2 separate regions of the Homo sapiens genome follow, and region 2 is linked to region 1. The links are contacts of gene promoters, found by promoter capture Hi-C in blood cells and fetal thymus (Javierre and others, 2016). All regions are on one chromosome and are shown on one strand. Each heading gives the region's core, a stretch centred on a gene start or on the middle of the fragment in contact. The rest is flanking DNA. Distances are from core to core; before and after follow the strand shown.

Region 1 (4,811 bases), core at 1,624-4,123:
TGTTACCTAGTTACAGCTGCCAAATCCAGGGTCACTGGATTGATCTCAATTCCTGACTTTTCCATTGACTTCAGAGTGAGACATTCTTTGCTTTGGCATCTGTAATTTTCGATCCACAAGCATAGCGTGAAAATACTTATGCTTTCTTAGTAGCATTTCAGACACGAATAAGTTAATACTTGTCCTTATCACTTGCGTAGAAAGGAAATCAGTACTATACAAAGTCTGTACTCCCTGAATGTCTTCCTCTGTGCCTGGATTTTTAATATCTTTTTTGTATGTGTTTTAAACATTCTTGTATATAATTAAGCATAACTGTGAGTGTAGGTAAACTATTCATATTCCAGGATTAATTTATGTAACCGTATTACTTTCATTTAAAATATGTTTAAAGCAGATCCCTCTCATTCCTGTGGACCTGCAAAGTGTCCAGTACAGTGACCACCAGCTACATGTGGCTACTCCCACTGAAATGAATTAAAGTGAAATACAATTTAAAATTCGAGCCTTCAGTGGCACTAGCCACACTGCCAGTGCTCAGCAGTCCCAGGTGCCTAACGGCCACCACACTGGACGCAGTGGAGGGAGGCTCTGTCCATCCACTTCCATCACCCACAGATGGAGCTGCTGCTACGGTCTTATACTACTGGATATCTAGTAGTGCCCACATGATAGTACATACTAACTATCTGTCGAATGAATAATACAATAATTAGTTTTAACTTGTCTTAATAATTCTTAAAATGTGACAGTCAAAACGGAAGACGTCCGCTTGTTTTACACAGTTGGATTAGCTGGGGGTTATTCTTCCCTTCTGCCTATTCCCAGCTTTGTTTTTAGGGAACGTGCCACAGATTTTGGATCACACGTTCACAGAATGTATCTGATTATTTCATTCTGGCCAAATCTGTCATATTTGTTTCTCCAAATGAATTATCTAAATATTATTTTACCCAAACTGTTTGCAGTTGGGTAGATGATGTACATGTTAAACCTTCCTGGACGCTGATTTATTTTTTTCAATGTGTTAGTATCAAATTCTAGCAAATTTATTTCTTAAGCAAAGAAATCATTCCCTTTTCAAAGCCTTCTTTTCTTTAAAAAGAAATCAAGCAAGTATCCCAGCATACCATGAGTCAAAGAGGAAACTGGAAACTTCCAGGGCAAAATCTTAGACCCAAGATGAATTCTGCAAGGAAACGTGATGTGAAACTGATCCAGCTATTTGTAGGATTACAATAAATACACCTTTGCCCTCAACTCCACAATTTACTGCCAAGCTGCACAAGACAGGGATACAAAAGGAGCCGGCGGAGACACTGTTAGCGGATCCCTTCACTCCAGAGGCCAGTTTTATCCCAACACAAGGATTCTTTACTGCCTCTGCCCCTGAGTAAACAAACACCTTCCCCCCAAGGACATTTCCCTTTCTCCTGCCCTCTTTGCAAACAACATCTGAATTTGCACGTACTCTCCAGGAAATCAAATGAATGTAACCTATCTAACCAAAGAAACTGAAGAACACGCCATAAATTGAAAGATCGGTTCCTACAGTTCAGTATTTTCTCCAGTAGGCCTTTCTGTAAAAACAAAAAAACACATTTCTCCTGCAGAACCCTTTATAAATATGGTTTTGATGATCACAATTACATTGAGACAGTCTCCTACAACAAGAAACGACTTTTGGATCTGCTCAACAGAAAGAGAATTTTGCAGCTGTGTTCAAGGAAGCAAGAAAAGCAGAGAGTGAATTTTCATGGAGTTAGACTGCGTTGAGACGAATGAAGCTAAGGCTCAGGTCTCTTTCATTACGTGTTTGACTTGTCCTGATTCAAAATCTAAATAACTTAAAGGGTGATTCTTCATGGAATTCGAATCTTAACACCGGAATAAAAGGGTAGCCTGCTGACGACGATCACAGGGAGGACAAGGGGTCACCCCCACTTTCATAACATGGCCTGACCCTTTTCTGCCGCGGACAATTGATCCGAAGGACGCCGGCTGCCCAGCCCTGGCGGGCCACTACTGACCTAGTCCGAAGTTAGGAACAGCCTTGCAAACCGCCCCCTCCCCCTCCATTTCATCAAAATCGGGGAACAAATTCAGAAAAGGTGCAGCTGGTTTTCTCCCTACACGTGCCCTAAAACTCGGGGGCTGGATCCACTTTTCATAGCTGTTTAATAAGAACTCCGGGCAGTTCGTATTACTTCTTTCTCAGAGTGCTTGGTGGTTTAAGTTAAAGCATTTTCCTCTCTCGCCTTTGGGGGAAAAAGCCTCGGCTGCTGGGGTTTGTGGGCCCCTCCCCCGGACTTCGTCTTCCTTTCCTTCCCCAGCCCCCGACCCGTTTTGCTCTCGTCCAAAACAGAGCGACTCCCCCGCTGCCGAGGAAAAGCCAGTTCAAGAAGCCGGGGGAAGGGTGGGGCCCCGCGTGCCCCGGAGCAGCGCCCCTCGAAGGCGGGGGCAGGAAGCAGCCGCCGCGCCCCGTCCCGCTTCCCTCCCTTCGGGCCAGAACAATGGCTTTTTGCCCGGAAAACGGAGTTGGGAGCAAGGGCGGGCGCGCCCCGGGAATCACGCGGGACTCGGTGGGCGCCCCAGGCCCGAAGTCCCTAGGCACCTCCTCCCCCAGCCAGGGGCCCGCCCGCGCCCCCACCCCCGCCCCCGCCCCCGCCCGGGGCCCCGCGCGGGACCCCCCGCCGGAGCGCGAGGCCCAGCCCGCCGCGGACAATGCGCGCCCCGCCCCGCCCCGCACCCGCCCCCCCTCGCTGATTGGCCCGCACGGGATTTGGGCAGCGCGCGGGGGCGGGCGGCGGGCCGGGGCGCGGGCGCGGAGCGGCGGTGCGCGTGCGCGGGGCGGGCCGGCGCCGGGCGGGGGCGGTGCTTTGTGTGCTGCCGGCGGGGCGCGCGGCGGTCCGGGCGGGTGACTGGCGGCGGGCGCCGCGGTCGGGCTGGCTGCCGGGCAGCATGGAGGAGCTGAGCAGCGTGGGCGAGCAGGTCTTCGCCGCCGAGTGCATCCTGAGCAAGCGGCTCCGCAAGGTGCGTGCGGCCCGCCGGGCCCCCCGCCCGCCGCCCGCTGTCCGTCTGGCTCACGGCCCCTCTTCTCTCCCCGCAGGGCAAGCTGGAGTACCTGGTCAAGTGGCGCGGCTGGTCCTCCAAGTGAGTCCCCCGCGACGCCGCGCCCCCCTCCCGCCCCCTCGCCCGGGGGTGGGGACGTGGAGCCCCTCGGCCGCGCCGTCCGGTGGCCTGGGGGCGCCCGCGGGCAGAGCGGGAAGTTCGCGGGGTCCCCGCGGGCTCCTCCGGCTCTGAGGGGGGCGGGGGCCGCCCGGCCCGAGGTTGCCCTTTGTTTACACGCCCGCGGGTGCAGAGCTGGGCGGCCCCCCGCGCCAGAACCTCCTCGGCTGCCGCGCCGCGCTCCCCCCAACCCCCGTCCCGGCCGGGAGGGAGGCGCGGGATGCAAGCCCCCCTCCTCTTGGCCAGATTCTCCCCGCTGTAACCTGAGCTTGCTATTGATGGATGTAGAGTTTCTTTTTTTTTTTCTTTCTTTTAATGGAAGGGAGGGTGTTTGGCATCCCCGGAAGGGGCTCTCTGCACAGCTGCTCCCGCGGCCCCGTTTCTGCGTCTTCCCGGACCCCGCTCTTTCTTCGCTACCCCTCGAGGTGCCCCGGCCCGCGCGCCACATTGTTCTGGATCTCGGGCTGGGCGCCTGTGCCCCTCCCTGCATGCTGGACCTGCCTTCCCTTCCTCCTCTGGCTCCGGGCCAGGGTTTGGGGGAATCCCTCTCTGCAACTTTGCGTTTTATGGGGGTTTGTTTTTCTCCCAGGCAGAGACTGTGGGAGTCCTCTTGTGGCCTTGTTTTAATTGGGGGGTTGGAGCGGCAGTTTCCCTTTGGGTCTGAGGTTAGAGTGCTGGCTTGGTGGGGGGTGGCCAGCCTCCAAAACCTGGGTTTGGACTTTGAGAAGTGCCATGGTGCTACGGTGCCACTGCCATCGGCCCAAGTCGAGGAGCGGTGAGGGCGAGCCCCCTCGGGCTGCCTTGCAAAGCGGTGATCATCAGCCTGGCGTCTAATGCTGCCCTGTCCTCTGCTTTGCAGACATAACAGCTGGGAGCCGGAGGAGAACATCCTGGACCCGAGGCTGCTCCTGGCCTTCCAGAAGAAGTGAGGACGCTGACAGCACTGGGGAGGGTGTGGGGGAGGGACGGTGGCTGGTTGGAGTCGTGCTGGGCGCTGCTCGCCTGCCGGGAGGCTGGAGCTGGGGCTGTGGTCTGAGGTCCCTTAGCAAGATTGTGTCCAGGGCCATCTCTGTGGCTGGCTGTAAAAGTCCCCAGCCAGCCCCTCTCCCACCTTCTCCTAGCCAGCCTGTATCCATCCCTGAGAAGAACCTAAGTAAGTGCTGCTTTGGTGTTTCCGACAGCCATACTTGCAAAAACCAACTTTTTCAGTTGCTTCAGATAAAGATGTTATAGCTTCTCTTGGCCTTTTCTGCTGAGTAATTTGCACATGGCGCTAACAGAAAACCAGGAGAGCAGGTTTGCCACAGTGACGCAGGTCTGCCCTTCCAGCCCTGCACGCGTGTGCCATCAGGCAAGAAGGCTCAGAGAGGGAGCTGGAACACACAGCACGCAGTTGTGCCTATTGTGATGTCTCTCTCAAGAAAGAAACATTTATTTTGCTCTGGCCTGCAGCATACAGTACCAAGTAGCACCATGAGGCCGGATTGGGCCAGACTTGTTTCTGTAATTCTAGATGTCATTTCTATTTTTAGGTAGGAAGTTTAGGTTAAGAGATAGGCCTCCTTGAGATGTTCAAGGGCAAG
Region 2 (4,811 bases), core at 1,689-4,188, 1.6 Mb after region 1:
CACATCCCACAGGACCCCTGCTGGAATAGCTGTCTCTGCAAAATGCCCGTAAGTCCACAGAAACCGCCAAAGCTTTCCTGAGACTGGGGACATTATCTGCAGCAATGGGGACCACATCTGGTGTACCGAGGTCTCCAGTGCTCGAGCGGGGAGGCACGTGAGAGCAGAGGGGATGGGAGCCCTGAGTTCCTGAGCTAATGCTACAAAGTCAGCACTGGACTAGCACATCAGGTGGATCTAACCAGGCCCCAGCGAGGCTCTGCAGAACGTGGAAGGGGTCAGAACTCACTCTTCCCAGCAATGTCCTAGAGGCAGTGGCCCCGCTGCCCTGGCCTGATGCGGGCTCCAGAGCTGTGGGATGCAGTGTGAGCCCTTGGCCCTGAGAAGCTGTTCTCCCCAGTCTGCCTCGTCTGGGAAGCCAGGTCAGCTACCTGGCTGAAGGCCATGGGCACTATGCTGGGCAGGAGCAGGGATCTGCCATGTGCCCTGCGGGATGATGATTTTCATTAATCTGCAAAACATTGTGTCTTAGATAAGGGTAGGCTTCTTAGTCAGACAAACCTAGCTCCAATCCTGCTGTGTGGCCTTGGGTAAATTACTGACCCTCTCTGTGCCTCATCTTTAATGTGATTTCCATGGCAGGGCAGTCATGGGGACGCCAAGTGCTAATGCTATAAACAGACCAAGTACAGGTGCTGGCCTGTGCCAACTTTCTCTTCCTTCTCCTCTCCCTTCCTACCCCATGTCCCTGTGGCCAAGGGACAAGGTGGTTGGCAGTCTCCATGAGGTGCCTGGGGCTGGCGCTCTTGGCCAGCATAAGCCCACCAGGCTCTGGGAAGGGTCAGCCCTGCTCAGAGTGGGCAGATGGGTAGGCATGGCCGAGGGCACGAGGTGGTCACAGGTAAGCTGCCGGCAGCAAAGGGCAGCCTCTCACCTGGCCTTTGGGCAGAGAAGCCCCGCCCAGCTGTGGCAGTGAGCTGGGAGCGCATCTGTGGCCCTGCCCTGCTCTTTCCCCTAATGTGAGCTTCACCCCCGCCCTCCTTGAGCATGCCCAGCTCTTCCAGACTCACGCAGTCACATTTCACAAGTAGAGGAATGCTGGGGGGCCGGGGCCGGGCCAGGCTGCACCCAGGGCCACCCACATGCCCCCACCCATGAGAAGCAGCAGGAAGTCCCCTCCCCCTCCTCCACCCCTGTCTGTCCACCTTCAGGGTTTGGCTCTGATCTCTGGCTCTCCAGGGGAAATTTCCTTGTGGAGTTAGTGGAGTCAACTTTGCTGACAACAGTGGGGCCTAGAATGGGCTAAGGACATTATCTCTGCACCTAGGAAACCCCCACCATTCACTAGTTATTCATCCATCCACCCACCCATCTATCTATCCACCCACCCACCCACCCATCTATCCACCCCCCAACCCACCCATCTATCCACTCCCCAACCCACCCATCTATCCACCCCCCACCCACCCATCCACCCATCCAACCATCCACCCATCCACCCATCCACCTATCCACCCATCCACACCCCATCCATCCTATCCATCCACCCATCTGTCCTTCCATTCAATAAACGCTTCATGAGAGAAGAGACCCACCCTCCAGAGCTGACCCTGTAGCCCAGCCCAGGCCTCCTGGCACGGTCATTGGACTGCCTGGGTTAGATCACATGGGGTCCTGGTGGACACGTCGACTCTACTCTCCAGGGCTGGGCCCTGGCATCTGCATTTTCACCGAGGTCCTCTGAGGACCACATACTGATGCTTTTTTCCACAGGCTCTGAAGGCCCAGCCAAGGAGCTGACAAAGCAATGGACGGTGGCGAGGTTCTGCCAGGGGCCCAGCCATGGCTCTGGGGGTGCAGAGACCTGAGCAGAGGCCTCTAAGCTCCACCCATTTCCCACCAGCCTGACACAAGGCCCAAGAAGGCCAGAGTTCTGGAATGTAGGGGATTTGGGGCTACACTTCCTTATAGGACAAGGGAGTCCTGGGGACAGGGTCCCCAACACTGTGCACCCTTTGGTGGGCTGGCACTTGTCTCCAAAAGGAGGGCTCCAAAGTCGGGGCGGGTTGCCTGGGTCCCAGCTGGGCCCTGCTCTGGACTCCTGGCTCTCCTTTCAGGCTCCTTCCCCAAGGGCGCATCCCCCGCCCGGCCTGAGCTTCAGTCAGGGCTCACACCCTTCCCTGTCTCACTCAAGTGGGCCTTTCCAGGGTCAGTGAGAGACCCTGGGGACCCCATCCAGCCCAGGCCACACGGCAAGAGGGGAACTGCTTGCCTAGGCCCGGGTGTGGGTGTGAGAATGGCTGGAATCCTTCCAAGGTGCCCTTGCCTTCACCCTGTGCCCCCCGTGCTCCTGCACCTGGGCACTGGGGCTGCAGAGCTGCTGAATTGCAAGGGGGACCCCTCACCCTTAGATCTTGTTCATGCTAATGGCTTTGCAGGGGTCCTCTGATGCACCCAGGCCCCCTCCTCCCAGCTGGCCTGATTAGCAATGAGCGCAACTCCGGGAAAATTATTAATTTCTATCCCTCAAGTTTACTTCTGGGAAAGTTTGCCAATTAACTTGGCAAGCTGAGGCTCCCAAAATAAAAGGCAAAGGGAGGGAGAGGCACTGGGACGGTCCTTGGTGGGAGGGGCAGCAGGTGCAGACTCCATCCTCAGGAGTGGGGGTGGGGTGGCCTCGGACAGAGCCGGGGCCACTGGCTGGGAGTGGCCTGAAGTGGAACGAGGAGGTACCCTGCAGCGGCCCCGCCCACCATACCAAGGGTGGCCCCACGCAGGGCTGCACCGCATCTGGTTGAAACTCGGGAGGTCTGGGCGGGGGATGCAGGGGCGCCTGGGGGCCCTGGCTCTGACAGTGTCCACATCTGCACGCGGAACACACAGGCTATTGATGGGTCTGAAATAAAAGGGGCTGAGGGCAGCGGGCAGAGCCTGGGACCACCGCGGCTGGGCATCTTCCCATCCAACAGTCCCCAGCTCTGGTCCTTCTCACTTTCTTCTGTTTGTTTGTTTGTTTTGTTTTTTTGTTTTTATTTTTGCGACAAGTTCTTGCTCTGTCTCCCAGGCTGGAGTGCAGTGGCATGATCACGGCTCACTGCAGCCTCAACTTCCTGGGCTCAAGCAATCCTCCTGCCTCAGCCTCCTGAGTAGCTGAGACCACAGGCATGTGCCACCAAGCCCAGCTAATTTTATTTTATTTTTTGTAGAGATGAGGGTCTCCCTATGTTGCCCAGGCTGGTCTCAAACTCTGGAACTCAAGTGATCCTCGATCCTTGGCCTCCCAAAGTGCTGGGATTACAGGCATGAGCCACCAGGCCCGGCCCCTTCTTTTGTGCAAAGCCAGGCCCCCCCCACCCCCGATGCTGGGCTCCACACTCCCCCAGAAGGCCTTCCCCCTCTCTTCCCCCTCTCTGACCATGCATCTGATGCGGTTTGCTTTGGCTCAGTCACTGGCGGTGAAATGTTGCTGTCACAATCTCGGCTCCTGCCTTGCTCTGAGGTCTGTGTGTGGGTTGGGGAGGGGGCAGCAGGATGGCGCCCCTTCCCAGCCAAGCAGCCTCTGCACAGTGGGTGTGCAGCCTCAGGGAGGCAGATGCCAGGTGCAGAAGGAAGCCAAGGAGACCCACCTGGAGAGGCTTCTGGGCCCTCAGGCCTTGGCACTGACTACGGGGCCCTGGCTGGGCAGATAGCGCCAGAAGGGACACTGGACCCTCCCAAGGCTAGAAGAAATAACCAATCCCCACTCAACGAGGCTGCTTCCTCTGTGGCCAGATCGAAGGCAGGGCTCCTGATGAGGGGGCCAGAGGCACTGGGCCAGCTGCTTTTGGACCCAAGGGACCTGCCCAGATGCCTGTGGGGGTGTGGGGAGTGAGGGGAGCCACCGTACCCAAGGTCGCAGCATCCCTGGGAAATGGTCCTGCCCAGCAGGCTTCCGGATGTCTGGTTCAGGAATGTCTCCCCAGGCCCACTCTGTAGTGGCCAGAGACAGAAGGGCAAGGCCATGGCTTTTTAAAAGGCAGCCAGAACATTCGTCTCCTGCCAGAGTAAGGCCATGGCTGTGCCCTCCATGTCCCCGGCACTTCCCGCCACCCCAGGCTTATCTCATCTCCGGTGCCTCCTAATGGAGGCGCTGTGGCCCAGCCCCTCCAGCAATGTCCCAACAGCCCCCATCAAGCCCCAGAAGTACTCAGAAACATAAATTAAAACAAATTGCATTTAAAAATTACAAATAGGGGCCATTTTATCGTTTTTTATTACATAACAACCATTAATAAAGTGTAGTCCCTGCACCTTCATTGCCTGGAGACTAAAGTTCAATTCCTGTCCTCCATGCAGGCTGGGGATGCCATTGTCACAGCCACGTACCTGGGGTAATACAAGTGTAAATACATTTATGGGCAGGAAGAGGGGCTTAGGAGGAGGGCCCTGCCGCCCACAGGGCAGGGCGGGTCCTGGAGCTCTCTGCTGGGAGGAGCCACTGCCTTCCTCCCAGGATGATGATGGGTTAGGGGATCCTGGGACCAACTGGACATGAAGAGGCCACTCCCACTGGGGTAGAATGAGGTGGGGGCTGAGATCCTCCTGCCTCCCCTTCCTGATCAAGGAGGGCCCATGCAGGAGAAGGAGATGCAGGCGCAGGATTGGCTGTATGGTGCACACACACACACACACACACACACACCCTGGACCCCCGTGACAGGGAAGCAGAACAGGAGGCCAAGACCAGCCACACACTGCGAGACCAGCGGCCAGGCTGCCCAGAGCCCTTCCTGGGTTCAGCCTCTTTCCTGGGCTTCTCGTCCCACTGGAGG

What was found. The method cuts DNA at HindIII sites, captures the fragments that hold promoters and counts their contacts. A CHiCAGO score of 5 or more calls a contact.
Region 2: a contact is called between a fragment that was not itself captured here and the fragment with the promoter of CBX2 in region 1, in 2 of 17 cell types (naive B cells and total B cells). The highest score is 6.4, in naive B cells.

The regions. Positions count from the first base shown.
Region 1 is chr17:79,775,275-79,780,085 of GRCh38, forward strand. It overlaps CBX2 (chromobox 2), which reads left to right and starts at 2,874. Exons shown (of 5, transcript NM_005189.3): 1 at 2,874-3,033; 2 at 3,110-3,153; 3 at 4,088-4,153. The coding sequence starts at 2,962. RefSeq lists silencers at 2,679-3,058, 3,069-3,138 and an enhancer at 3,534-4,127. The HindIII fragment of the contact is 13,003 bases long and covers 1-4,811 here.
Region 2 is chr17:81,334,949-81,339,759 of GRCh38, forward strand. RENO1 (regulator of early neurogenesis 1) reads right to left here. Exons shown (of 2, transcript NR_186479.1): 2 at 4,235-4,365. Among named protein-coding and RNA genes, the nearest start is that of TMEM105, 6.7 kb to the left of the region's middle. RefSeq lists an enhancer at 4,296-4,811. The HindIII fragment of the contact is 5,737 bases long and covers 71-4,811 here.